Linked DNA regions of Homo sapiens: regions 2, 3, 4, 5, 6 and 7 are each linked to region 1. The links are contacts of gene promoters, found by promoter capture Hi-C in blood cells and fetal thymus (Javierre and others, 2016). All regions are on one chromosome and are shown on one strand. Each heading gives the region's core, a stretch centred on a gene start or on the middle of the fragment in contact. The rest is flanking DNA. Distances are from core to core; before and after follow the strand shown. Region 1 holds the start of ATG16L2 (autophagy related 16 like 2). Region 2 holds the start of ARHGEF17 (Rho guanine nucleotide exchange factor 17). Region 3 overlaps P2RY2 (purinergic receptor P2Y2). Region 4 overlaps P2RY2 (purinergic receptor P2Y2). Region 5 has its middle 7.6 kb from the start of IUR1. Region 6 overlaps IUR1 (imatinib upregulated ABL suppressing lncRNA 1). Region 7 has its middle 43 kb from the start of CLPB.

The links. Contacts are between HindIII fragments. The CHiCAGO score rates a contact against its expected background, and 5 or more counts as called.
Region 2: a contact is called between the fragment with the promoter of ARHGEF17 here and the fragment with the promoter of ATG16L2 in region 1, in 3 of 17 cell types (endothelial precursors, neutrophils and megakaryocytes). The highest score is 9.0, in endothelial precursors.
Region 3: a contact is called between a fragment that was not itself captured here and the fragment with the promoter of ATG16L2 in region 1, in 6 of 17 cell types (endothelial precursors, megakaryocytes, M0 macrophages and 3 more). The highest score is 13.1, in endothelial precursors.
Region 4: a contact is called between a fragment that was not itself captured here and the fragment with the promoter of ATG16L2 in region 1, in 6 of 17 cell types (endothelial precursors, M1 macrophages, erythroblasts and 3 more). The highest score is 8.4, in endothelial precursors.
Region 5: a contact is called between a fragment that was not itself captured here and the fragment with the promoter of ATG16L2 in region 1, in 9 of 17 cell types (endothelial precursors, M0 macrophages, megakaryocytes and 6 more). The highest score is 10.2, in endothelial precursors.
Region 6: a contact is called between a fragment that was not itself captured here and the fragment with the promoter of ATG16L2 in region 1, in 10 of 17 cell types (M2 macrophages, megakaryocytes, M1 macrophages and 7 more). The highest score is 8.8, in M2 macrophages.
Region 7: a contact is called between a fragment that was not itself captured here and the fragment with the promoter of ATG16L2 in region 1, in 1 of 17 cell types (M0 macrophages). The highest score is 6.0, in M0 macrophages.

What each region holds. Positions count from the first base shown.
Region 1 is chr11:72,812,612-72,816,393 of GRCh38, forward strand. It overlaps ATG16L2 (autophagy related 16 like 2), which reads left to right and starts at 1,800. Exons shown (of 18, transcript NM_033388.2): 1 at 1,800-1,952. The coding sequence starts at 1,835. It overlaps LOC107984421 (a long non-coding RNA gene), which reads right to left and starts at 1,456. Exons shown (of 3, transcript XR_007062771.1): 1 at 22-1,456. RefSeq lists enhancers at 63-122, 283-412, 2,423-2,572 and silencers at 953-1,042, 1,443-1,892. The HindIII fragment of the contact is 2,352 bases long and covers 411-2,762 here.
Region 2 is chr11:73,306,213-73,309,994 of GRCh38, forward strand. ARHGEF17 (Rho guanine nucleotide exchange factor 17) reads left to right here and starts at 2,064. Exons shown (of 21, transcript NM_014786.4): 1 at 2,064-3,782. The coding sequence starts at 2,427. ARHGEF17-AS1 (ARHGEF17 antisense RNA 1) reads right to left here and starts at 3,149. Exons shown (of 3, transcript NR_147696.1): 1 at 2,460-3,149; 2 at 1,670-2,352; 3 at 1,299-1,344. RefSeq lists silencers at 1,436-1,575, 1,976-2,305, 2,536-2,755 and enhancers at 2,176-3,053, 3,059-3,782. The HindIII fragment of the contact is 10,810 bases long and covers 1-3,782 here.
Region 3 is chr11:73,237,886-73,241,667 of GRCh38, forward strand. P2RY2 (purinergic receptor P2Y2) reads left to right here. Exons shown (of 3, transcript NM_002564.4): 3 at 1-3,782. Among named protein-coding and RNA genes, the nearest start is that of P2RY2, 21 kb to the left of the region's middle. RefSeq lists enhancers at 1-253, 2,437-3,187. The HindIII fragment of the contact is 1,187 bases long and covers 1,567-2,753 here.
Region 4 is chr11:73,219,645-73,223,426 of GRCh38, forward strand. All of the region lies in intron 1 of P2RY2 (purinergic receptor P2Y2), which reads left to right. Among named protein-coding and RNA genes, the nearest start is that of P2RY2, 3.3 kb to the left of the region's middle. The HindIII fragment of the contact is 1,742 bases long and covers 1,127-2,868 here.
Region 5 is chr11:73,188,660-73,192,441 of GRCh38, forward strand. No RefSeq gene overlaps it. Among named protein-coding and RNA genes, the nearest start is that of IUR1, 7.6 kb to the left of the region's middle. The HindIII fragment of the contact is 1,694 bases long and covers 1,311-3,004 here.
Region 6 is chr11:73,164,616-73,168,397 of GRCh38, forward strand. It overlaps IUR1 (imatinib upregulated ABL suppressing lncRNA 1), which reads right to left. Exons shown (of 4, transcript XR_950294.3): 2 at 92-155. Among named protein-coding and RNA genes, the nearest start is that of IUR1, 16 kb to the right of the region's middle. The HindIII fragment of the contact is 2,739 bases long and covers 524-3,262 here.
Region 7 is chr11:72,475,211-72,478,992 of GRCh38, forward strand. It overlaps the pseudogene ART2BP. Among named protein-coding and RNA genes, the nearest start is that of CLPB, 43 kb to the left of the region's middle. The HindIII fragment of the contact is 3,151 bases long and covers 514-3,664 here.

The sequences.
Region 1 (3,782 bases), core at 550-3,049:
TGCCCCAATATGGCTCCTTACCTGAGAGAAACGGCATCTCTGCACCTCACAGCCAGGCCAAGCCCTGTTAATATACTCTCCCATGCACACAGCCAGAGTTCCTTATTTATATAGTGTCTCCAAGCACCCAAGAGTCCGCCAGTTCTAAAGGGAATTCATCACTGTCATCAGCTGGCCCTGGGTCTCCATGGGTACTGTGCCTGTCTCCTGGGCATGGCTTTTGCTGAACGTTACCACCCATCTTCAACACAAATACTCCTTCAAGAGACAGGTCAGGCCTGGTTTGGGGCTAGAGGTACAGAGACATCTAGGACCCAGGTCCTGCCCTAAGGGGCACCGCACAGATTACAGGATGGTGTGATAACTGGTGACGGTTATAACTCGAACTCAACTGGGGCTGGTGTCTGAGAAGCTTGAACTCAGTGTAGGGGCAGGAAAGTTCTCCTGGAGGAGGTGATGCATGATTAGGAGCCAGGCCCCCTAGAGGCGACGATGTTCCAAACATCAGGCTCGGCCTGTGCAAAGGCCATGGGCGTCTAAGACAATGACATGTGGGGGACTGAGCCCAGCTCACTGGAAGCAGAGCAGGCTACACTGACCTGGGGGCGTCTAGGCCTTCACTGCTTTCTACGTCCTCTGACCCATCCCCATCAGAATCTCAACAGACTCGTCACCTCCAGGGCCTGCACTGCTCTCCCATCGTTGCCCAACTTCTCTCGTTCCCTAGGGATGTTCAAGTCTGCCAACACTCAGAGGGCAGGGCCTGCTGGCATGCCCCAGGGTGAGGCTGTGCCCAGCGAGTCCCTCCTTTCGTGTCTCACAGTAGCCTGAGCCTGCAGAGCTGGCTCTCTAGCATCTAGCTAGAGACGGTTTGACCACAGTTCCCTGCGACCCATGATTCACTTTCGAGGGTACCCACAAGAGATGTGTCTGCTCCTCCAGACGCCGCCCAATGGGGTGAAGCGTCTGGCCCTGAGTCAGGATGCTGGGGTGCTGGCCGTCTCAGCTACCCACTCCTTTGCAACCCCAGGCAAGCAAGCTCGTTCTCTCCTCCCGGCCAGGGGCTTTCTAGATGAAATCAGCTGCACCCCTTTACTCTCAGGGACCTAAAATTTCGGCGACCATGTGGAGCCGTAAACCCTTCTGCCTCCTGTCCTCCCAGCCCCGCACCCACCTGGCGTTTTCGTGTCACGGAACCTCTGCACGTGCTCTTCTCGAGGCCTAGAGTCCCTCTCTCCCTCTGGCCAACTCCTATTTCATCCCTCACAGACCCAACTCGAACGCCATCATCCCCGGAAAGCGGGGATTCCTCCCTTCAGTCTCTGCTTCCTTATCTTGCTGTCCTGCTGCGCCGCGCCCTCAGTGTACGCGCAGAGCCCGGGGCTGAGGGCCTCTGGGTCCCTGGCTGGGTGCGCGGCCAGGAGCGCGACGGCCTGGGAAGCACCAGCGGCTCTCGAACTCGGCCCGGGCGCGGCGGGGTTAAGACACCCGGGCCTTGAGGGCCCCGCCTCCGGAGCGCTCCACCCGCGTGGGGGAAGCCTCCCCGGAGGCTCCGACCTCGCTCCTGCTTATGACCCTCGCAGCCACAGGAGCCCCCACTTAGGTGAACATTTCGGACGGGGCCCCGGCGGTTCAGACCCGGAGGCGGCTCCTCCCGGAGGCAGATCCTCCCGGCGTCGGCCTTCGGTCCTCCCCGCCAAAGCCCTCTTGGGACAAGCCGGGGATTCCCCGCCGCCGCCCGCCCCCTGGCGTCACGGAGTCCCCGCGAGGCCCCGCCCCGGCCTGGCGCCGTCCTGGGCGGGAGGAACGCGCCGCTAGGCGGGAGAGCGCGGCCATGGCGGGGCCGGGCGTCCCCGGTGCCCCCGCAGCGCGCTGGAAACGCCACATCGTGCGGCAGCTGCGGCTTCGGGACCGTACGCAAAAGGCGCTTTTCCTGGAGCTGGTGCCGGCCTGTGAGTGCGCCCCGGTGCTGAGAGGATGGCGGCTGAGGGGACGCGGCTACGGGCGCGGGGAGAGGGTTTGGCTGGCTCCTCCGCCTGTGACCCGAGTGCGCTGTGCCTTATGCCTTGAGCCTGTGCGTTACGCCCATCCCGACTGCCAGGACTCCGCCCCTTGCCATCCAGGCTCTGGTTAGAACCTGGACGAGCCCCTCCTGGTCCCCCTGCCCTCGTCGCCCCTCAGGACGGGCTCTGCCTCCCACAAGCTGGGCTTCCGAGACGCAAGTGCGTCCTCGGGTGTTGGTTTTGCAGGGTCTCTTTTGCCTCCCCACCCGGGCAGTCCCCGGGGTAGGGGCTTGATCAGTGCACTTAGTCTCGGTAGCGCAGTGAAAGAACGCGGGACTTGTCCAGAGCAGCCACTTATTGGCCCATCCGGAGAGGGGCGACACTCGGAACCTCTAAGGAGGAGGCTGTGCATCTCAGGCTCTGCCGCTGACAGGCGACGCTGGCACAGGCTTATGGAACACCTCCCTGTCAGCCTACCCAGCCTGAGGGGGCATCAGGGGGCCCCGGGCTGCTGGTGGATGCTGGCTGAGCCCAGCGAAGTCGGACTCTCAGAATTGTTTCTGGGCAGCTGGTCAGGATAGGGTGTGGCATTTCAAGAGGGGATGAACAGGTGTGCCTGTGTGTCGCACCTCTGGCCGCCTGCGATTGTATGTCTGTGGTTGGAAGTCTAACCACAATCCCTGCGGCTCTCTCACTGGGGCTAATCTTGGCCAAACCCCCACAATCAAATCTGCTCTTAGCCAGGAAAATTTCTCTGCAAGCTTCCAGGCTGCTGGTCCTCTACCTTCAGGGTTGCGAGGCCAGCCCCCACCTCCAGCAGCCACACTTCTCCACTGCTCAGACAGACAGTGGAACCGTCCAGTTTGAGGGAGGGGGTCACCGCCCCCCCAACCCCTGCCCCCCGCCCCGACCCAGGGAGCTGTGAGTCTGAGGGACTAGAGAGATCTGGAGGGCTGAAATCAGACTGAAGGGCCAGTCTTGAAACCTTGGGCAGATCACATCGCTAAGCCTCAGTCTTCTTACTTGTTAATTGGGTATAGAGACCTTCTTTAGGTTTGCTGGGTGCTGCAGTACCCTGGGGGCTGAGGTGGGGTTTTCATGAGAACTAGGCCAGGCCCAGGGCCTCAGTCAAGGTGACAGGGCACTGAGTGTGGGAAGGAAGTTGATGAGGAGGGAGCTAGGCCCGGACTTACCACCCCACCCTCCCCTGGAACTGGTGAGAAAAGAGGAAGTGACTGTTGATGGGGGAGGGTGTTCCAGGGTCAAACCACCAACCTCCAGAATGTCGGCTGGATAATTGCTCAAGGACTTTCTATTCTGGCCTGGGGGTACCTTACACCAGGGCTGGGGAAGTTGGGATTATTTATTTATTTATTTATTTGAGATGGAGTCTTTGCTCTGTTGCCCAGGCTGGAGTGCAGTGGTGTGATCTCCGCTCACTGCAAGCTCTGCCTCCCAAGTTCACGCCTGTCTCCCGTCTCAGCCTCCCGAGTAGCTGGGACTACAGGCGCCTGCCACCACGCCTGGCTAATTTTTTGTATTTTTTAGTAGAGATGGGGGTTTCACCGTGTTAGCCAGGATGGTCTCGATCTCCTGACCTCGTGATCCGCCCGCCTCGGCCTCCCAGAGCGCTGGGAATTCAGGTGTGAGCCACCGCGCCCGGCTGGGGATTATTTTTAAGTGCAGAAAGCTAGAGCCCTTGGAGGGGAAGTGACTTGCCAAAGGCCATTGACAGGTAGAGCTCGGTTTATTTCATCACTTTCTGGGGCTAAGCCTTGC
Region 2 (3,782 bases), core at 814-3,313, 490 kb after region 1:
TCCTTGGCCCCCTTGAGGCAGAGCTGAGATGAGGTTGAGGTGAGGGACTCCCTGGATGCTGGTCTCAACACAGAGAGGAAGCACTTTCTTGCTACAGAGATATTCCACAACTCAAGAGGCTGCCCAGAGAGTGGAGAGTGACCTCCTCATCCTGTGGGGTATATGAGTAGCAAGCAGGTTCTGGAGTCCCGGCTGAGTCCTCTCTCTCTCATTCGGTAGTCAGGCAATCCCTGGGTGTCTACCATCCTTTCCTATCCTCCTGCCTGCCCCTCTCCTCTGAACCCCGTCTCCTAGCCTAGTCTGGCCCAGCTACATCTCCTTGGCTGGACCTGGTGGCAGTGGGGTTGGCTGGGTAATGCACAGACTGCTGACCTAACTATGTGTCCCCGAGGCCTTGCTACTGGGGGTTGGAGGGGCCAGGGCAGTTTGACCAGGCCTGAAGAAGGCTGGGCAGCGCTGGAGGGGCATGGGTCAGACCAGGTTATCCTCTGTTCCTGAGGAGAGTGAGCTCAGGCCCAAGGAGGAGAAGGAGGAGACTGGGGGCTCAAAGGAACGAGAACCTCCTTCTTCATCAGGATTTGGGGGTGCATCTCAGAGCTGGCTGGAGGAGCATGGTGTTTGAAGCCCCTGAAATCTGAATTTTAGCAGGAGCTGCTATTTCCTGACTTGCATAGTGGTCAAAGTTACTTCTCCTTCACGGTCCACAGAGAAGGGGTAATAATATTTGTCCCCAAGGGTGGTTTGTGGATTTTAAAAAATAAGTTAAATAATATTGCCCATACATTATAGGTACTCCATACATTTTCATTCGTTCGTTCATTCGTTAGTTGGGCCGGGAGGATGAATGGGATCTAGAGGCAGGTGGGAATGCGGAAGGGGATGATGCCCCAATACCGAGAACAATGTGAGACTCAGACGGAGGCAGGGGCGGGAGGGGAGCTCAAGCGAGGGATCAGCGTGAAGCCAGAGAAACAACCGACACTTTTCCTGCCAAGAAGGTGAAGCAGCTGCGGGTAAGAGTATAGGTTTGGCAGTGGGAAGTCGAGGGCGTTCCCGTCGAAGCTCCTTTTGTGTATAAGGCCTAAGAAGGGGCAGTGCGCTTTGCGAAGGTCTGAAAAAGACTAAGGGGATTAGGTAACGACTGAAAGGAAGTTTTCACAACTCTCCGTTTTTGGGGGATGGGTGCTGCTTTATCCGTCCAGGACTCCGTGCGTTGGGAAAATCACGCCGCGAGGGGGCGCAAGAGCCGCGTACTCCAGAGCAAGAAGAAAAGGCTCGGGGATCCAGGCGGAGAGTCCAGGAGAAGAGCCGCCAGACTGCAGGGGCAGGTGGAAGGCGTGGCAGCTGGAAAAGTAGGGGTGGGGGCGCGGTCGTGAAGGGTGGGACTTCTGGAGCAACGCTGGGCGGGTTGGGGGCCGGTCGGAGCCGGACAGGCGGCTGGGAGGTGGGATGGGCGGGGCGCTTGGGAGCGAGATGGGGGGACAAGGGCGTGGCTACAGCTAAATTCGCCGCAGAGGGCGGGCGGGGAGGGGGAGGGAAGGGGAGGAGGCGTGGCCTGGGCGGGGAGTAGGGCGCGACGGACCCTTCAGTTAGCCCGCGGCTCCCCGGGCTCTCCCTGGCGCCGAGTCCCACCCCTTTCCCGGCCCAGAGAGTGTGCGTCTGCGTGCACCTGAGTGTCAGTGTGTACGAGAGTTTGTGAGTCCGAGGTTGCCATGTTGGAGCCCCTGGGCAGGAGGTGTTTCCGCGCGGAGGCTGGTGGCCCGCGGTGGACGCGGCGCCCTGGCTGCGAGTCTGCGGAGCTGAGCACGCTCAGCGGTTGTGTGTGTCTCAGCGACTCCCTGGGGGCAGCTCGGCCTGCTGGGCTCCCGAGGGACCTCTCTGGAGGGCCAGAGGGTCGCCTCAGTCTGCAAGTCCTCCAGCAGGCTTTTTCTTCTTCGGCTCCTCCCTGATTCCCTCCCACCACGCGGTTCCCAGGCTCGCGCACGCCCGGAGCCCACCCCCTCTTTTGGGCGCGAGGCCCCGCCCCCCGCCCCCTTGCCTCTGCCGCAAAGTTTATTTGCAACAAAAGGGTGCCAGGAGCGAGCAGCCAAGGGCGTTGGGCAGGCGGACGCAGAGTCGAGGAACCAAGCGCTGGGATCCCGCCCAGGCGGTGCCGCGGTGCCCCTGGTCGCTCCAGCCGCGGCGGGGGCTGGGCCTGGGGGTCGGCGCTGAGGCGGGAGGGGCCGCCCGGGATGGAGACGTTGCGGCCGGTGGCCACAGAAACTTGAGCCGCGGCAGAGAAACCTCTGCTCCGGTCTCTGCGTCCTCTTCCCACACTCCCGTGCGCTGCTTTCGGCGTGGGCCGCTGCGCTCCTAGGGAGTGGGGGCGCAGGGGGGGTTGGCCGCGGCTGCCCGAGGCCAGCCCCCCCGGAGTGAGTTACGCCACTATGGCGGACGGGGCACCCCGGCCCCAGCTTTACCGCAGCGTCTCGTTCAAGCTGCTGGAGCGCTGGAGCGGCGGCCCCGGGCTGAGGGAGGAGGACACGGACACCCCCGGCTTGAGGCGACGCGCCTCGTGCCGGCCGACCACGGCTGCCCGGGGCCAGCCCTCTCGGCGCGTGTCCAAGCTGGCGTCTGGGCCCCTGGCCGCCCCCGCGCAGCCGCGCCCGCTCCGCAGCCTCTCGCCGTCGGTTCGCCAGCTCTCCCGGCGCTTCGACGCGCCGCGTCTGGACGACGGCTCCGCTGGGACCCGAGACGGAGGCGTCTTACCCGCGGCCGCGGAAGAAGCGGCCGAGGGCCCAGCGCGAGGAGCCTGGCCCAGCGTCACCGAGATGCGCAAGCTCTTCGGCGGTCCTGGCTCCAGGAGGCCCAGCGCCGACTCTGAATCCCCAGGAACGCCCAGCCCCGACGGTGCCGCGTGGGAGCCTCCGGCTCGGGAGTCGCGGCAGCCACCGACGCCACCCCCTCGGACATGCTTCCCCCTGGCGGGTCTGCGTTCGGCGCGGCCCCTGACCGGGCCGGAGACCGAAGGGAGGCTGCGCCGGCCGCAGCAGCAACAGGAGCGGGCGCAGCGTCCAGCGGATGGTTTACATTCTTGGCATATCTTCTCCCAACCGCAGGCCGGGGCCCGGGCCTCCTGCTCCTCCTCCTCCATCGCCGCCTCCTATCCTGTCAGCCGCAGTCGTGCTGCCAGCTCCAGCGAGGAGGAAGAGGAGGGCCCGCCGCAGCTGCCTGGAGCCCAGAGTCCGGCCTACCACGGCGGCCACTCCTCGGGCAGTGACGACGACCGAGACGGTGAGGGCGGCCACCGCTGGGGAGGGAGGCCCGGGCTCAGGCCTGGAAGCTCCCTATTGGATCAGGACTGCAGGCCTGACAGTGATGGGTTAAATCTAAGCAGCATGAACTCAGCAGGGGTTTCTGGGAGCCCTGAGCCCCCAACATCTCCAAGAGCCCCTAGAGAAGAAGGACTCCGGGAGTGGGGTAGTGGCTCTCCGCCCTGCGTCCCAGGTCCCCAGGAGGGACTTCGGCCTATGTCTGACTCTGTGGGAGGAGCTTTCCGTGTGGCCAAGGTGAGCTTTCCCTCGTACCTGGCCAGCCCCGCAGGCTCCCGCGGTAGCAGCCGTTATTCCAGCACGGAGACCCTCAAGGACGACGACCTATGGTCTAGTAGGGGTTCTGGGGGCTGGGGCGTGTACCGCTCCCCTAGCTTTGGAGCTGGGGAAGGGCTCCTGCGGTCCCAGGCTCGAACCCGTGCCAAAGGACCTGGAGGCACCTCTAGGGCATTGAGGGATGGAGGATTTGAG
Region 3 (3,782 bases), core at 910-3,409, 430 kb after region 1:
ACGTGAGGGGATCTGCCTGCCCTCAAAATATCTCCTATTACCCTCCAATATTCCCTGCCCCCTTCACACCTCCCTAACCTGACATCACTTCCTGGGCTGTTGACTCATGAAGGCCACTGTGAAAGGGCACGTGAGTTGCCCATCCACTGAGCAGACCCCAGGGATTATCCAGCCCAGCTGCAGACTCAAGGCCAGAGATGGGCAGGGCTGAGCCCAAGGTCATTCAGCAGGTCAGCGTGGCGCCTGGATGTAAGCAAGTGCCTTGGTGACGATCCTGCTGTCACTCACACTGCCCAGCTCTTCCTGCCCAGGGTGACTGGGATGGAGCCATAGACCTGAGGCCAGGGACAGGACAGGGATGGGAGGAAAGGGAGGGTAGAGAGTTGAGTGTCAGGGAGTAAATGTCTGCTGATGTGCCTGCAGCAGCTGTTCTCAATGAACTGCATGACATCAGGGCAGGGTCCCTGGCACACAGGGGTCTCTGCCCTGGGTGGCAGGTGTCCCAGGGTCCAGGAGGGATGGAGGAACCCCAGGGTACATTCCCACTTTCACCCCCTGAGGTTAGAAGAGGCCCTAAGCAACATGTTATCCACACATGGTTGCTCCAGGTCAAGTCACCAAAGCTACCTCTCTGTCACCCTTGTCATGGCAGATTTGGGCTGCTCTGTTTAGAATCAGGCACATGAGGGAGGGAAGTCGTGTATTGACCCATGTCCCACGCACCCTCTCATCTATGTTATATGGTGGATGCTTCACAGAAGCCCTGGGAAGTAGATGCTATGATCCTATTTAGCAGATGAGGAAACAGGAGAAGGGCGTGAGAAGTGAGGACTTGTTCCAGGTTATCCAGGCTGTCAGGGTGAGTCAGAGTGAGTCCAGGTTCACCTGATGGCCAGAATCATGCCCTTTATAGTGCCCCACGACACTCACAGCCCTGCAGGGCAGAAGGGTCTATAAGTGGCCCCTCGCATGATTCAAGATGACAGAGGCAGTGTAGCAAGGATGTGAGAACACAGATGCTCCACCCAGACCACCTCAGTGTCAATATTGTCCCCACTTTCCTGGCTGGGGTCTCTTGGGCAAGTTACCTAATCTTGCAGCACCTCAGTTTTCCCATTTCTAAAGTGTGCTGCTACCTTCCATGCAGGGCGTTGAGGGGCTTCCCTACGTTATTACGCACAAAGTCCTCCTCACAGTGCCTGGTGTGTGGTCAGCATTTATATGCCTGGCACCAGGCCGGGGGCTATGGAGGCAAATCAGCTGGGCCCTGCCCTCACAGAGTTGACATCACTTAGTACGTAACCACATTGGGATACATGTTTTGAAGGAGAGGACAGTGTGTCTGGCCAGTGAGCAACAGTGGGCCATACGTCTCCAGGGAACCCCCGTGGGGTGTGGGAGGAGGGAAGCAGGTCTGTCCTGGGGGAATGTGTGGGACCACCTCTGCCCTGCTTGGCAGTAGGTGGATTTCAGGACCATGGGCCTGTGCTGTTTACAGAACCTTGTCCAGGTGCCCAGCTGTGGGAGGGCAGCATGGAGAGGAGGAAGAGGGGGCCCCTAGTAGCAAGCTTCAGAAACTTGCCACTTCAGGCTAGAGAGCTCGCACCCTCCCACGGCAGCAGGGTAGCCATTTCTCCCTGACTGGGGTGTCCACCATGGTGCTCTGCAGCCACCTCTCACTTCATTAAGAGTCCACAGATCTAGGAGCAGAGGACTGGTCTGGAGCTGGGCAAGGGCAGGCAGCAAATGGGGAGTTTTTGCTGTGTGACCTGAGGTCACTTGCCTGCCTTCTCTGGACTGCACTGTAGGGCCTGGAGACCTGTTCCCCTGTTCCAATTTCCCCACCTCAGTGAAGGCACAACCAACAGCTGCTCCCCGGGCATTTCCAAGACCCTCCAGGCCCCCAGCTCTGAGGACTAGGGTGGAGGCAGTGTTTCTCCCCAGCATCAAGTGACCAGAGAAGTGAAGTGACCCCACTGCCGCCACACAGAGCCACACAGTGCGATGTCTGGAGCTCCTGCCTCCTGCAAGGTGGAGGGTGGGGCTTGGCCAGGAGTGACCAGACTACAGAGTGAGGGGTGTGCTTGTGGGGGTGAAGGGTTGGGGTGAGAACTGAGCCCGAGTCGAACTCATCCTCCTCTGCCCTGATGCACTGTGCAACTTGGGGGAGTCACTGTCCCTCTCTGGGCCTCGCTTTCCCCATCTTCGATAGGACTTGGCTCTGCCTGGCCACTCCTCCTCCAATGGGGGAATTCCTGGGCTTGCCTCTGTCTTGGCTCCAGCTCAGGTGTCAGTCTCAGCCCTGTCCCAGCCAGGAACAATGGGCCAGGCAGGGCCAGTCACCCCCTGTCCCTGGGGGCTCCACCCACGGCCCTGGACTATTTTCAGCCCTTGCAGATGGAGTCAGAAGAGGATTTTCCACTCCCAGTACAATGACTGCCCTGGACCATTGTCCAGCAGTGACGCGGGGGACCTGCCTGCCCCAAAATATCTCCTGCCCCTAGTTTCCAAGCCTCTTTGCCCTGCTCCTCACCTCCTGGCCCTGCTCCTTACCTCCCCACCCTGATGTCATTTCCTGGGGCTCTTAACTCCTGAAGGCCATTGTGAAACATCACGTGAGACTCCTGGGAGACACAACCAGTTGGAATGAGTTTTCCCTCCTGGCAGGGACCCCAGGGATTGTTTGGCTGCTTAGTGGGACTGGTGGCCCAGAGAGGGCTGTGCCTTACCCAGTCACACAGCAGTCAGTGTGAAGCTTAGGTGTAAGCCCAGGGCTCTTTGGCTGCTCCCACTGCCTCAGCCAACTTCATTAGCTCCAGTCTGTGGCTCCTGGACTGGAGCTACAGTGGTGAGAGCTCACCACTGAGCTTCCTGGGATGGGCACCTGGGATAGCAGCCCAAGTGGTGTGGGTGGAGAGGTGCAGCTCATGCTCTGACCTTGGAGTGAGCCCAGTGCAGGGGCCTGACCTTAAACCCTTTCTCCCCACTGAGTCCCATTTTTACCAAATGTGGCTGTTAGGAACTGAATGTTTGTGTCCCCCGCCCCACAAATCCATATGTCAAAATCCCAACTGCCAAGGTGATGGTATTAGAAGGTGGGGCCTTTGGGAAGTAACCAGGTCCTAAGGGTGCAGCCCTCATGAATGGGTTTAGTGCCCTTACAGAATGGACCCCAGAGAGCTCCTCACCCTCTTTCCACCATGTGAGGATATAATGAGAAGTTGGCAGTCTGCAACCTGGAAGAGGTCCCTCACCAGATCCCAACCATGCTGGCACCCCGATCTTAGACTTCCAGTCTTCAGAATGGTGAGAAATAAATGTCTCTTGTTTCTAATCCACCCAGTCGGTGGCATTTTGTTATAGCAGCCCACGCTGACTGTGACTGAACTCAGGGTGACAGAGCAGCAGCTCTGGGGCAAAGGGGAGGGTGGGGGCCACAGGGCAGCTGATGCAGGAGCAGGGCTCTGGCACAGTTCAGCCATCACCAATTCTGGGACTGCAAATTCAGTTTCTTCATCTGGAAAATTGAACTGGTAATACCAATACCTCTTTTCCCGGTTTACTAGACAGAGACAATGCAGTGAGGCACAAACATGCAACTGTTTGATTTTCCTCCCACCCATGCTCCCTGCTCAGTGACGTGTGATTTTCCTTTCCCATCCATAAACTGCGCATTTGGCAAACTCCAAACTTTTGAGTCACTTTTGGGTAACAAAGTCAGGTTTAAGATTTCCATCGCCTGCTTAATTGAATGCTCACCTGTCCTCTTCCCCCATGCTGTG
Region 4 (3,782 bases), core at 748-3,247, 410 kb after region 1:
GTAGCCTGGGACTTAAGGTATTTGATAACTGGGGCCTGCCAGCCTTTCCAGCCACCTCTCCCGCCTGACTCTTTACCTTGCAGCAGCTGCCTGGAGTCTCTCATTTCTTGCCCCTGGCCTGTTGCATATTCTACACTCCCTCTCTGATAAGCCCTCCTACTCTCACCTTCCTCAACTGGAGAACTACCCAGACTTGGGACCCAGCTCAGATGTCCTCTCCTCTGGAAAGCCTTCCTTGATCCCTACAGCTGGGTTGGAGCCTCTTCTAGGCCCCTACAGGCCTGGGGCTGACAGCCCTGGTCCCACCTGAACCGTCATGATCTATGTCTGTCTCCTCCTTTCCTCTTCCCAGGTCTAGGGGCTCCTGGAGGGCAGAAACTGGGTCTTATTATTTCTGTGTTGCCAGCACCCTGCACAGGGCTGAGCTGAACTGAGAGAGCAGCAGTGGCGCCCATCCCCTGTCTCTGGCACCAGCTTCTCCAGTAAAGGCCCGGCTGCAGGGGAGCTCCATGTCACTACAAAGAAGGGCAAACCAGAATCTGGTTATCAAAGTGGGTGGCACAGTTTGCCAGAACAGTGTGATCTGGGACACTGTAGGACCTAGAGTGCCCAGGCTAAAGACCTAGAGATTTTATCCTGAAGGCAATAGGGAGCCATGGAAATTTATGAGCAGAGGTGTTTCATGGTCAGAGCGGCATTTCAGAAAGCGCTCTCTGGCTGCAGGATGGAGAATGGATCAAGTATTGCCAAGTGCAGGGAGGTCAGGGCATTTGTGATGTCAACACTAGAACTGTCCCAGGAGTTGTTTGAACCCTAATTGAGCCCTTGCCCCTTGGCCAAACACTTTTCCCTGAGCCTTCAGATGCTCCTGCTGAGGAATTTGGGGACCTGCAATTGATCTCATCCCAGCTCTGTTCCCAGCTGGTTGAATGACCAGTTCCTGCCCTGCCAGGCTCTAAAAGGAGGCCAGAACAAGTAAGATCCTGCATGGGAGAGTATGTGTGTGGGGAGGCTCTGGCACAAAAGGCTTGTCGCTCTTTCTCCTCTTCTCCCTGCCTTGGGCTGTCTTGGAGTCTGGTCAGAGGGGTTGGGGATCCCAGTGGGCAACCCTCAGAAATGACTACCAAGCTTGGGCTGTGGAGTGAGGCTGTGACTCCTCTGTTTCTGTCTCCCTCCTGCCCTGGATGCATGGGGCTCTAAGGCTGTGGATCCCCCAAGGACCAGCTAAGAAGGTGTGAGGGTATCACCAGGGCCTCATGAGTGACCCCATGAGAGCTTTGACTTAATGGCTATAGTCTTTAGAGAGGCCATTGTCCCTCTCTAGGTGTCAGTTCTGCCATTTGTAAATTGAGAATGGTGATCCTTGCTTCTTTGAGAGCAGAGTTGCTACGAGGATTAAGATAGTGACCAGGGAAGAGCTTTATAAGCCTTAAACTGCAGTGCTCAGAGGAGGAATGTGACACTTGTAGACTTAAATCCATTTTGAAGACTATAAGAGAACATGGGTGCAATAGCAAGGGATTGTGCTTGTTATTGAAATTTGATTACTGAATGCCTTCCTCCCCCACCCCCTCTGCAGAGATGGCTTCACTAGTAACGATTTACAACAATCCATTTTGTCTTCCTATAGCCCTGTGAGGGAGGAATTGTATCTCCATTTTGCAGATCAGGAAATAGAGGCATGGATTGTATCCTGCCCAGGGTCACCAAGCTGAGGTGAAACCTGGGGCTCCAGTCCACCTGCCAGCTTAGCCCTCCCCATCTGAGACAGAGCCCTGTTAGGGTTAGGCCTGGTCCTCTGGCTTCCAGGCTGAGGGGAGTTTGAATTCTGCCCTGGGAACCTGTGTTTGGGGCTTTCTTGTGGCCAGATTACCCAACTGCTGATAAGGTAACGCCTGCCCAGACCTGCCCACGGGACCAGAGATGCCTTGTTGATCTGGTGAGGGGAGTGGGGGTTGCCCCTCATGCCTTCCACCCAAACCGCCTCTCCCCAAACTGCTTTCTGTAGGCCTGCTTGCTATACCCTCTGGGCCACACCTCCTCTTGGTTGTCCTTGGGTCCTGAGGCCTGGCCTTCCCTTATTACTGGGCCCTGATAGGAGGAGGCTGGCTGTGTGGGCCACTCTGACCTCTGTACTCATCCAGCGGCCAGTTGCAGGACTAGGCTAGGCCATACCTGCTTTCTCTCTCTGTCCCCATCAGCCACCACAGGTTGGGCTCAGAGCAGCTGCCAGTGGGTCTTTGGGAAATGAGTGGCCAGGCGGGAGTAGGCATGGAGTAGAAGGGGAGGCTTTGCTCCACGGAGTGCCATAGTTGGTTCTGGAGCAGAGGAGTTCCTCCACCCCATCACCCCATCTCCTAGGCCTGAGTCTTTCCTGGTCCAAGATGAGTAGCGGGAGTTTCTGGTAGGAGGGTGAGCAGCCTGGGCCCCGTGGAACAACTCCTTGACCCTCTGCCCTGGTACCTTGTCACTGTCATTGTAGCTCCTGAATGAGAGGCCTGGGTGCTGGAGTGAGGGAAAGGGACCTCCCTCAGACTTCTGGGGCTTTATGTGGCCTCTCCCTCCCCAGGTCTGAGGAGAGCCTCTGGGTGTCGACCTGGCTTCCTGGTGAGTGCCCAGCCACCCAGCCCTGGCTTGTAGGAGGGGGACTCTTGCCATGGCTGGGCTGTTGCAGGAAATCCAGGGCCAAGGGACCTGCTCCTCTCATGGCACCACCGTATGTGTCGTCTCCTCCTTGGTCTCCCTCCCTCCAGACTCCCTGTCCCATCTACCTTCCATGTGGCACCATCTTTGTAAAGGTTGACTCTGACCATGTCCTTCCCCTCTTAAGCCTTCCATGGCTCCTCAGTGTCCTTAGAATAGAGGCCAAGCTTTTCAGCCTGGCATTTGAGCCTTTTCAAGTGAATTCCTCAGGCTCCCACACATTCCATGCCACCTCACCCTCCACAGTAGCCGTATAAGACCTCCCAGCCTTTTTCCAGCAGGTCACACTTTCATCCACCAAGTCTTTGCTCATGCCTCTCCTGCCTTCAGAGCCCTCCTCCCTCTTTGCCCACCTGACAAACTCCTAATCATCTACCAGTTTCCAGCTCAGATGACCCCTCCTCTGCAGAAGCACTCCCTGACCACCTCCCCCAGGCCAGGTAGGAGTTGCTGTGTGCTCCATAACCCCTGGGCTTGCCTTGGTTATGGTTTATTCACCCAAGTGGATTTGGTCCATGTCTGTGTCTTTTTCCTCAGCCTGACTGGGTACTCCTCAAGGGCCCAGCAGAGTGCAATCTGAGTCTGAGTTCACAAGGTCCATCTGAGGCCAGGTGCACCAGAGCATTGGCAAGTGTTTGCTGGGACTTTGTGGTTCCTGGGAATGTGATTTAAGATTTCATTACTCTGAATCCAGACCCCTGTGGCTCTGAGAATCTCAAAACCAAAGGCTATCAGGAGCAACGAGTAATAGAATTGAAGAAACACAGCCTTCACACCCGGAACCAGAGCCTCTTGGAATTAGACTGCGAGAACCAGGGAACTCAGAATCCTGGAGGTACCTGGAGGGGCCATCTCAGAATCAGAGGCTCATGTGGTTCCTGGTTGATGCTTTCATCCCCCTTTCCACCTTGGATTCTCCATCCACCTTCTTTCCTCCCAAGCTGGACCCTTCCTGCTCCTCCTCAAATCTTATCACAGTTCCCCTTCCAGGGACCTTGCCTGACTGCTCTGACCATGACCTCTGTCCCTCTGCTGGGGAACACCTGGGAGGGCCTCCCTACCAAGCAGTGTCATGGGCT
Region 5 (3,782 bases), core at 908-3,407, 380 kb after region 1:
CTGAGCTGACCTCCACGTCCCATGCCCTGTATGTGAAACCGCAGAGGAGCCCAGGATTTAGAACAGCCCATGGAGATCAAGACTGAGTATTGGTGCCTCCATGCCTGGAGGATGCAGACAGGTGAGGCCCCTTCTCAGCGGCCCTCTCTGATGCCAACCCAACACATATTTCTGAACTCAGTTACTGTGCAAGGCTGTCAGAGATTAGGAGCAGATGACACCTGGGATACTTTCTGTTTTTTGAGATGAGTCTCGCTTTGTCACCGAGGCTGGAGTGCAATGGCACAATTTCGGTTCACTGCAATCTCCGCCTTCCAGGTTCAAGCAATTCTCCCTGCCTCAGCCTCCCAAGTAGCTGGGATTACAGGCACCCACCATCACAACTGGCTAATTTTGTATTTTTATTAATTTTGTAATTTTGTATTTTTGGTAGAGATGGGTTTTCGCCATGTTGGCCAGGCTGGTCTGACCTCAGGTGATCTGCCCGCCTCAGCCTCCCAAAGTGCTGGGATTACAGGTGTGAGCCACCGTGCCCAGCCACACCTGGGATACTTTCTAGAGGGAGGATTTTAGCTTCTGAGAACAAAGGGATGGAGTCCTTCCTCTGTCACCAACGCTCTGGTCCTTGGTTTCCTCCCCTCGGAAAGGGTGTGGTGATACCTGCTCACAGACTAGCTGGGGGTACAGAGGAGGAGAAAAGGGCCGGAAAGCGTGCTGGGAACTCTGGAGTCTGCAGTGCCCACAGGGCCGCCACTCGGCTGGGGCCTAGGTTCTCTCCCATGAGAACCTAGAGGTTGAGCAGCTACCACAGTCTTCGCCCCAGCCTGCCCCCAGCCAGTAATGTTGCAGAAGAAAAGAGGAACAGATCTTGAAGCTGACGTGGGCGAAAGGGAAGGGAAATGCAAGCAGGGGCCACGGAGGGAAGCTATGGGTCTCCTTCCCCCACCTGCAGCCTTTGCTGCCTCTGTTACTACCTTCTGTCTTTCCAAATCCTCCCCTCATCTCCAGCTCCTGCTTCCTCCCTGACCCTAGGGGGCTAAATAAGATGGGACACTGAGCACCCTGTGGGGAGGTGAGCTGTCTGGTGGGCTTTGTTTAATTTTCCAGAGCCCCCTCTCTACATATAACCAAGGAACTTTCTAAAGACAGGGCTGGGCTTCAGTCCTCCAGGGGCAGCCCTGTGAACTGGGCTCAGAAAACCTCAGATTTGAACCCTCAACCCCATATCTGTCTGTGTTACCCTGAGCCAGGTGGGCCTCCCTCTGAATCCAGGTGCCTCATCCTCACACTGGCCCCATGAGGCCTTTGCAAGCTTCTGCCTGGTTCCTGGTTCTCATGGTGCCCCGGCCTTGTGTGTGAATGAGTGTGTGTGTGCACACTGGACTTTGCTGCACATGGTAGCCCACAATCAATATTGAATAGCCCACCTCAAATCCTTTTTGAAAGGCTGAGTACCTGAATAAATAGATAAATGTTGACTGAGTCTAAAAACACACATGCAGCCTGAGAAAAGCCTTGTTTATCCAGCCTCCCTAAATAAGGAGTCAATTCCCAGAGCGGACTCTCCAGATGATTCAGGATGGAGGAACCTAAAGATGTGGAAGAATAGAGGCCTCCTAGGTGGAGGGAACATCGTGAGCCACAGCTGAGAGCTGGAGGATACTTGGCTGCAAGTCGAACAGCCACATGAGATGAGCTGATAAGGCTGGCAGGGTCCAGAGCCTGGAGGGCCTCGAATGCCAGGCCAAGGAGCCAGACCTTATCCAGAGGGCAGTGGGAACCATGGAAGGGTTTTGAGCAGGGGAGTGACAAGGCTGGGTGTGTGGCCAGCAGGGTCCCTCTCTGGTTGCTGCATGAAGCATGGACTGAAGGCAGACAGCAGTGTCAAAGGGCCCTCTGCTTTTGAGGTTCAGGAGGAAAAGATGAAGGATGAAGTTGGGCAGTTCAGCGGAAGGTGAGAGGTGGACAGTCCCCAGGATAGCACAGAGGGGTGGCCAGGATTTAGTTAAGGATGGGAGGAGGGCAGGCAGAAAATGAGAGGAGGCTTGGTGGCTTCTGGGTTCCTGGCCCAGGTGACCGGCTGGTTGGTGATGCTCTTGCTGAGGTTGTGACAGGAAGAGCAGGTCTGGGGAAAGATAAAGAGTTCATCAGCTTTGGACATGTCAGGGGAGCAGGCGTCCCAAAGGAGGATTGATTAGAGGGCTGGAGCCAGGTAAATGTGGACAGATTTTCCCTGAATGACATTTTACTGGATGACTTTAAAGTATCCCAAGTATCCTGGGGACAGTCTTTGGCACCAACTGCCTATGGTCCCCAAGACAGATAGGACCAGGACTTGGGTCCCAGAGAAGGGTCAGCAAAGGGTCTGACTAGGGTGAAGGGGAGGGTCTAAGATCCTTGGCTCAGGAGTACCCCCAGGGTAATGCAGGAGTGGCTGGCACAGAGGTTTAGAGGTAGATAAGGGGTAGGAAAAAGCCATGGGTGGGCTGAGCTGGCAAGCCTCAGAGACCAGTCAGCCCAGAACCATCATTGTACAGACAGACAGAGCCAGGCCCGGCAAGGCCTAGGGATCTGGCAGGTCACAAGTCAAGGCAGACAGGTCATCAGCTTCTGGCTCAGTGCTGTACCCTCAGCCCGACTGGCTGGGAGGGGTCAGCTCCGTGTGGGCCTGGGATTGAGCTCCTGGGCCACGTCTAGGTGCTGTGGGCTTGTGTGGTTCGGGTGGAAGCACTGGGGCAGGCAGATGAGAGCCCCACCCTGAGCAGCACCCTAAACCCACTGTCTGTCAGTCTGCCCCAACCCTGTGCTTTTACTTTCTCAGTCCCAGGACCCAGGCTGGGCTGTAATCAGAGGAGGGAACTGGAACCTGGACCGGGGGAACACAAAGCTCTGCACACAGCCAGTCTCCTGGCAGATGCTGAGATGCTCATGGGTGGGTGGGGGACTGTGGCATCAGGGGCCATGTTCCACACAAGGTGAAATGCAGTAAGGGCAATTTCCACAAAGCTTGTTGAGCCAGGTACTGTTTTATGATCTTGAAACAGTGAACAGGATTTATGTTCTAACTAGACATTGACAATAAGCAAACTAATACATAACATAACAATGGAAAGATGAGAGGAAGAAACAGAGCCCAGAGGGATGGGCACCTTCAGTGGGGAGCGGGGAATGGCCACTTGACAGAAGACCCCTGCAGGCCTGATGGGCTGAGTGATTTTAATTAAATCTATGTCCCTACCCCCGACCCATGTACCCCCACCCCGCCTGCCACCAGGCACTCCACCTTCTCCTCAGCTCTAGCTGCACCACTGGGAGTTCCTATTTTTTTTTTTTTTTTTTTTTTTTTTGAGACAGAGTCTCACTCTGTCACCCAGGCTAAAGTGCAGTGGTGCGAACTTGGCTCACTGCAACCTCCACCTCCCGAGTTCAAGCAATTCTCCTGCCTCAGCCTCCCAAGTAGCTGGGATTACAGGCTCCCGTCACCACACCCAGATAACTTTTGTATTTTTAGTAGAGACGGGGTTTCACCATGTTGGCCAGGCTCGTCTTGAACTCCTGACCCCAAGTGATCTGCCCGCTTCTGCCTCCCAAGGTGCTGGGATTACAGGTGTGAGCCACTGCACCCAGCCGCACCATTGGGAGTTTCTGAGGGCTGCCCTTGACTGGACCATTACCAGGGCCTGAGGAGGACTGTGGGGAAATGAGCCTCTCACAAGGTCTAGTCCCTCCCACAAAGTCCTGCCCAAGAGCCACCCCAACCTGCCCACTTGGCTCCTCCAACC
Region 6 (3,782 bases), core at 643-3,142, 350 kb after region 1:
AGGTTGCCTGGTCTGTTATGGAGCAGCTCTGACTGTGAGAAAAATATTTTAAAAGCTGAAATGGAGTCTGCCCTCCTTGTAACATCCATACCTGGTTCTGATACTTCCTTCCAGGCCACCCGGAATAGCTCAGCTTCTGTGCTTGGAGACCTTGTCTGCAGGCAAAGGTGGAGATTATGTCCTCTGTGGCCCCTTCTCTCCCTCCCCTGTCCCTGTGAGTGATGTTCCCTTGTTGTTCCAGTCTCTCTTCTCTGGTCAGGAAGGTACCACTCAATCCAGGGCTTTCTCCTGGTTTGGGATTTGGAATGGGAGCCCACATTCTAAGTGTAATGTGGCAAGGGGACAGTCACCCCCAGTTCTGAATGGACTAAGCTCCAGAGTGTTTGTCATGACAGCCATTTTGCTCAAGGGCTCTCCCCTCACCCTGTTCCACAACCCTCCACCTCCCTTATCTACAGCTGAACGCCTCAGAGCAGCTAAGCTATGGACTTGCTGGAGATTTCAGAGCTGGTTCAACCCAAAAAGCTTGGGGCCCAAACTGGAAGACAGGGATTAAGTTGGGCCAGCCATTCATTCCTCTGAGGAATTTGAACCTGAGATCTGAGGAGGAAGCTAAGCTGTTGGAAACAGGAGATGAGGCAGGAAGACTCAGAAAAGAGGGAGTGGGTAGCTGCCTGAGTCAGTGCAGGCTATGAGAAAGCAGAAGCTGAGCTAGGGCAAGGGACAGGAGGGATCCACTGCATCTGTAGGGTTGTGGGAGCAAGTGACAGCAAAAAATGACCAATTTAAGCAGAAAAATAATGTGTTAAAAGGACTCTGGGTAATTTGCATAAACTGATCTCCAGTTAAGGGGTGATTTAGCAGTGTGGTATATATTTGGTTCTGAAGAATTATAACACACGACAGGAAAAAAATATGTTTCAGAAAATGTAGGTAATTCTGTAAAGTGATGAATATGTTAATTAGCTTGATTGTGGTAAGCATTTCACAATGTATACCTATGTAAAAATATCACATTGTACACCTTGATTATATATACATTTTATTTCTCAATTATACCTCAGTAAAGCTGGAAAAAATATGACTTCAAATTAATATTTTTCCTTCTGGGTACATAATTTAAAAAATTATTTGATATTATAATTATAAATACATACAATATACAAAATTTTACAATATAAAATTATATATTTTATATTGTATATTTATAATTTTTATGTTGTATATTTTATAATTTTTACAATATAAAAATCATTTTATATTGTAATTTGACATCTATGTAATGTACAATGATTTAAAAATCAAGTCATTTTTCTCATATATAACAAAAATTCAGATCTGAAATTATATAATGATACTACCATAATCACAAGAAAATTTACAATTTCCTCCATGCCTTCTAAGGAAAATATACCTAGGTAGGTTGCAGGTTTTTGGTTTGCTGAGAACGAAGTCTTGTTCAGGGTCAGGGTGATGGCCTTTCCTATGCTAGATCACAGCCTTATATATCACGGGTAAGGAAGAGAACCCCAGAGCTAATTGTGCTATAAAAAAAGTAGTGTGGGGAGAGGGCAGGAAAGGTGGAGGTGGGGTTCACTGGTGAGGAGAGGAGCCTGGGGTTGCTTGAGAGGAGAGAGAGTTGCTGTGGACTGTTTGATGTAAAACACTACTCCATCTCTAGACAGGAATCTACAATACAATAACCATTCCTCACTAAGGCCTTGAGGTAAAGATTTACTTTGGGGCAATTCTAAGAGAAATGTTGAGTCTTGCTCTTTGGCGAGGGGTATAAATGGAGGCACACACCTAGGCTGCATTTTAGGATCCTGCCCAAGGGTTTTTTGTTTTTTTTTGTTTTTTTTTTTGAGACAGAGTCTCACTCTGTCACCCAGGCTGGAGTGCAATGGTGCAATCTTGGCTCACTGCAACCTCTGCCTCTGGGGTTCTAGCCATCCTGGTGCTTCAGCCTCCCAAGTATCTGGGATTACAGGCGTGTGCCACCATGCCCAGCTATTTTTTGTATTTTTAGTAGGGACGGGGTTTCACCATGTTGGCCAGGCTGGTCTCGAACTCCTGACCTCAAATGATCCACCTGCCTCAGTCTCCCAAAGTGCTGGGATTATGGGATTATAGGTGTGACCCACCGTGCCCAGCTCCTGCCCAGGTTTTTTGATGGGCCATTCAATTCTCAGCTGAAACTGGGTATTAATCATTACCCTATGTAAAGAACCAAAGGTGAGCCTCCCTCTCCATCACTGCCAAATTACCAGGGCAGGCGATCCAGCTGAAACAGAGATGGTGTTGGAATGTTTCCCCAAAGCCAGGGGGAAGTTATATCTTTGAGGTCAGCATTCTGACCTAAGAATGAATTTTTCAGAAGGTATATTAATCAGGATTCTTTGGGCTGCAAATCATGGAAATTCATCTCTAGTGTGTTAAGGAAATAAAATAAAGCCCAACCATAAAAGGGGAGTTTGGAATTATTGGCTCACATAAATATGAAAACCAGGAGTATGGCTAGCTTCAGGAATGGCTAGATCCAGGCACACAAGTCAAGTCACCAGGAATCTATCTCCATCTCACCACTCTTTCTTCCTCTGTGTTGGCTTCCCTCTCAAGTTACTCTCCCCATGTAGTAGAAAAGTGACTTCCAAGAGTTGCATCTTGACATCATCAGCCCTGCTAGAAAATGTTGACCTTCCCAGTAGTTCTGGGGAAAGTACCAGTCTCATGTAGCTAACTGGATTATTTCCCCAACTCTGGAGTTGGGAATGTGGGGTCCGCCACATAGGAATTCCTTGAACTGAGAGTAGAGATGGGAAAGTCTCTCAAAGGAAATCAAGGTGCTGATAGCAGAAATGAGAGTGGCAAGACAGCAGTCAGTGAAAAATGAGGCCATGTACCCTGTGCAGTGAGCTCAGGGACTGATGTCAAAAAAACCCCAAACTTCCTTATGTGACCCAGGCTGGAAACTGATATTTAATCCAGCCTTGAAGGACACGTGATTTATTAAGAAACCAGTGTCTCCAGGAAGGGGTGAGGTGGACTGAGGCAGATACCCTGGGCTGATTTGGGTCCCCACTCCCTCTCCTTTTGGCCTTAGCTATGGAGACAGGATTTCCTGGAGCTGGACCTGCTGCTGCAGGGCTGGCTACCAGACAAGCACTGAAACCCTAGGTCAAGGCCACATGCTACCAAAACAGAGAGACGTTTGCAGGAATGCAGCCACAGGGATAAAAAGAGGATGCTGAATTGTGATTAAAGCTTCCTGCTGTAATATTACAGGATGGTGGTAGGAGAGAGGGAGAGAAGTGGGAAAAATTAAGAGATTTTAGGTTCTGACAGCAAGAATCAAACACGGATTCAGAGCCACAGATCAATCCCTCAATTCCTGCACAAGAATGACCCGTGCCACTTAAGGAATATGCAGTGAGAAGGGGAGGCCAAGATTCACAGGACGACAGGAAGGAGAAAAGCGCGCCCAATATGCACTAAGATTGAAGAGATGTGTGCTATAAGCCATAAGATGTGCTTGACCACAGCATGGAAAATCTGGTCCTGCTAGAAGAGATATCCGTGGATGTAATTTATAGGGAAACCTCACTGAAAAAAAGCAGAATTCCCTGGAAACTGGATTTCCTATGCTGGATATCTTCCATTCCCTACCCTTTCCCACCCTGCTCTTTACAGGAAGATAACCACTACAGCCTTAATTAACAACAATCTGTGCTTCTGGCTTCAGGTTGGGTTTGGCCAATGGAGAGGCCCAGCTGGAGATGAGA
Region 7 (3,782 bases), core at 839-3,338, 340 kb before region 1:
CCAACCTGGTCTTCTGGTCGGAACAAGGGCTTATGGAGGTCATGTGATACATGGATTCTTGGCCTCAGTCCATCACTGGACAGTGGGTCCAATGAATCTAGTTATTTCCCTTGTTCCTGCATATATAGTTAAAATAGACATACTTAGTCATTGACTGAACCCCTTCCATTGGCTGCATGATTCACCATTGTTTAGTGTCTCTCCTTCACCCACTCCTATGGCCTCTGTGGCTTCATGACATGGATGACCTGGAGAAGAGATACGTAGATGGGCCTCTTGGAATGGGCATAGAGTATGAAGGCAATCATGTCCCACAAAAATACCCAACAGAGGTCATCCACTGCAGATGAGTCACTCAGTGATCAGGTGGACAAGATGACTGGATGTGCAGATGTCAGTTGGCCTCCTTCCCCAGCCCCTCCAGTTGTTGCTCAATGGACCAGGTACAAAGTGTCAAGATGGAAGAGATGGAAGCTGCACACAAGCTTAACAACATCTATATCCTCTCACCAAAGCTTATTTGGCTACCACCACTAGTGAGTGCCCAGCTGCCAACTGCAGAAGCCAAGGATGAGTCCCCAGTATGGCACCATTCCCCAGAGAAACTAGCCAGGAATCTCTGGTGGTAACTGATTTAATAGGAACCCTTCCTTCATTGAGGACAGAAAGTGCTCTCATGGGAATAGATATGTTTCCAGAGTTTTTTTCCTTGTTCCTAATGCTTCTACCAGAACCATGTCATTTTTTTTTTTTTTTTTTGAGACAGGGTTTTGCTCTATCACCCAGGCTAGAGTGAAATGTTGTAATCATAGCTCACTGTAGCTTCCAATATGAGCCCTCCTGGCCTCAAGATATTCTCCCACCTTAGCCTCCAGAGTAGCGGGGACTACAGGCACATGCCACAATGCCTGGCTAACTTTTTAAATTTTTTATAGAGACAGGATCTTGCTGTGTTGCCCAGGCTGGTTCAAACTCCTTTCTTTTCATGGTTAGTGGTCAGAATGAGTAGAGACTAGCATTGAAGCTGGAAAAGCTGGAAAGCACGTGTGGATTGCCTCAAGCAATCCTCCTGCCTAGGCCTCTCACAGCCGTGGGATTACAGGCAGGAGCCACTGTACCCAGCCAAGAATGTCATCTTTACCAACATGGTATCCCATACATCTGACCAAGAGGCTAATTTTATAGTGGAAGAGGTGTGGCAACAGGCTCATACCATGAGATTTATGTTAACCTTAGGATATATGTTATCACCCAGAAACAGCTGGCTTGAGAGAATCACCTATGAAGGTCATGGTTACTGAGAGAATGACCTGCTGAAGGTCAGTTATGGTGCCAGCAGAAATACAGCACCCTAACAAATGGAAGAGCAGTACATTCTTTACATCAGCAACCAATATATGACATTATTTTCTCTACAGCAGGGACACACAAGCATAGAAAGGAGGAGGGTGGAGTAAGAGAGGCCCCTCTCATGAATGCATCTAATAATCCAGTTAAAGAATATTTGCTTCTTGTCCCCACTGTCTTATTCCTTGCAGGTTTAGAAGCCTTAGTTGCTAAGGGAGAAAATGCTTCCAATAGGGAACATAGTTGCAGACTCGTTAAGTTGGAAGCTAAGACTGCTCAGTTGCCATTTTGTTTTCCTCATGCCGCTGAGCCAATAGGCAGAGATGTGGGTTACTCTATCGGCTGGGATAACTAATTCTAATTATTAAGGGGAAAGTGAATTACTGGATGTTTTAGAACAACATAATTCCTAGAAACATTAAGGAGAAACTCTAATTTTTAGTCATCTTCAGTATATCAATTATTTTATTTTAAACTTTTTTTTGTGTGTGTGGAGACTGCGTCTTGCCATCTTGCCCAGGCTGGTCTCAAACTCCTGGCCTCAAGCTATCCTCCTGCTTCAGCCTCCCAAAGTGCTAAAATTACAGGCATGGACCACCATACCTGGCCCAGTTATTTTATTTTAAGTATGACTTGACAATCTAGGGACATGTGGTTTAACATGAAATGTGAGAAGTTGGAATTCTTTTCTAACCTTTGGTCTGGGGAAGGACCTTGAAAGGTTAGTCTAGCCTAGGGATAAAAGCAGAAAACTCAACCTTTTTATGGGTTACATGGGAAAGGTATCAGGGGAGTGGACAGGCTCAGTTTATGATCACTCTCTGAAATGACGAAGACTTCTCAAATAAAAGAAGTTCAAAAATGGAGTCACAGCTGGGCTTGGTGGCTCACGCCTCTAATTCCAATAACTGAAGAGGCTGAAGGAGGGCGGGTTGCTTGAGGCCCGGAGATTGAGGCCAGTTTGGGCAACATAGCAAAACCCCACCTCGCTTAAATCTCTCTTAAAAAAAAATTCCAGCCACTTAGCCAGGCTTGATGGTGCGTGCCTGTAGTTCCAGCTACTCAGAAGTCTGAGGTGGGAGGATTGCTTGAGCCCAGGAGTTCAAGGCTACCGTGAACCATGATCGGACCACTGCACTCCAGTCTGGGTGACAGAGCAAGACCCCGACTCTAAAAATAACAAAATAAAAATTTAAAAATGGAGTCAGATCAAGGAGAACTCAAAGACAGCAAAGAGGCTTACTACAGATACTCACTCTTATCCTGCTGGCCCTGTCGACCATTCTCAGGTTCTGCCGTGCTCCAGATTCTGGCAGAATTAGGTCAGACGGCGGTGGAATATAGGACTGCAGACTTAAAGATGATAATAACATTCCATCGTTTAATAAAAATAGCTCCATGCTGGAAGAAATGGAAAACACGCACCATTGAGAAATTTTCTGTTGGAACTTACCTAAGATGGAAGGTGTCCAGGATGCAGACGTAAATGCAAGTCTGGAGTTCTGGACCCTACACTGGTGGTTGATGGTCGTTAGCACAGAAATAAGGCAACAACAATGAAGTTAGTGCTCAGGCCTCACTTTCACGGTCTTATGTGAAGTCTTTGTTCAACTACTAGATGACATCAATTTTAGACATGACAGATCACCTTTTGACTCCAATTTGGTGGCTAATAGTACAGGTAATATTTACTACCTCTGGACCCTCATCCTACTGACAGCTACTCCTTCATATTTTATAAAACAAGAAGACCCTGGAGTGGAGCTATGATGAGGGTCTGTTAGAGATGGTGGATTATAAATAAGAATCACAATTTTTCAGCCAGGCACGGTGGCTCACACCTGTAATCCCAGCACTTTGAGAGGCTGAAGTGGGTGGATCCTTTGAGCTCCGGATTTAAGACCAGCCTGGGCAACATGGCAAAACCCGTTGCTACCAAAAATACAAAAATTAGCTGGGCGTGGTGGCACGCCTGTGGTCTCAGCTACATGGGACACTGAGGCAGGAGGATTGATTGAGCCCGGGAGGTTGAGGCTGCAGTGAGCTGAGATCACACCACTGCACTCCAGCCTGGGCAACAGAGCAAGACCCTGTCTCAAATTAAAAAAACAAAAAAGAGAGAGAGAAACTGAAAGCAAACAAAAAATTTAAAACTGAATGTGAAAGGGCAGAGGGGAAACAAACAAACCAAACCAAAATAAACAATTCAACGATTTCCACAGAACAGCTCTAGTGGCCTGTACTGGGTATACAGTGCCAGGGTTATTAGCAGGACTGTAAGAGAATTCCTCCAAATTTTACAAAACTTTCAGTTTAAAGCTTTCTCTTATTATTTGACAAGAGCTCTTCAACTTCTCACTACAGGGCAGTGTTACATCATTTATAGAGGCTGTTGCACCAAGTTTCATTACCATGGGAGAGGCAATGCAATTTTG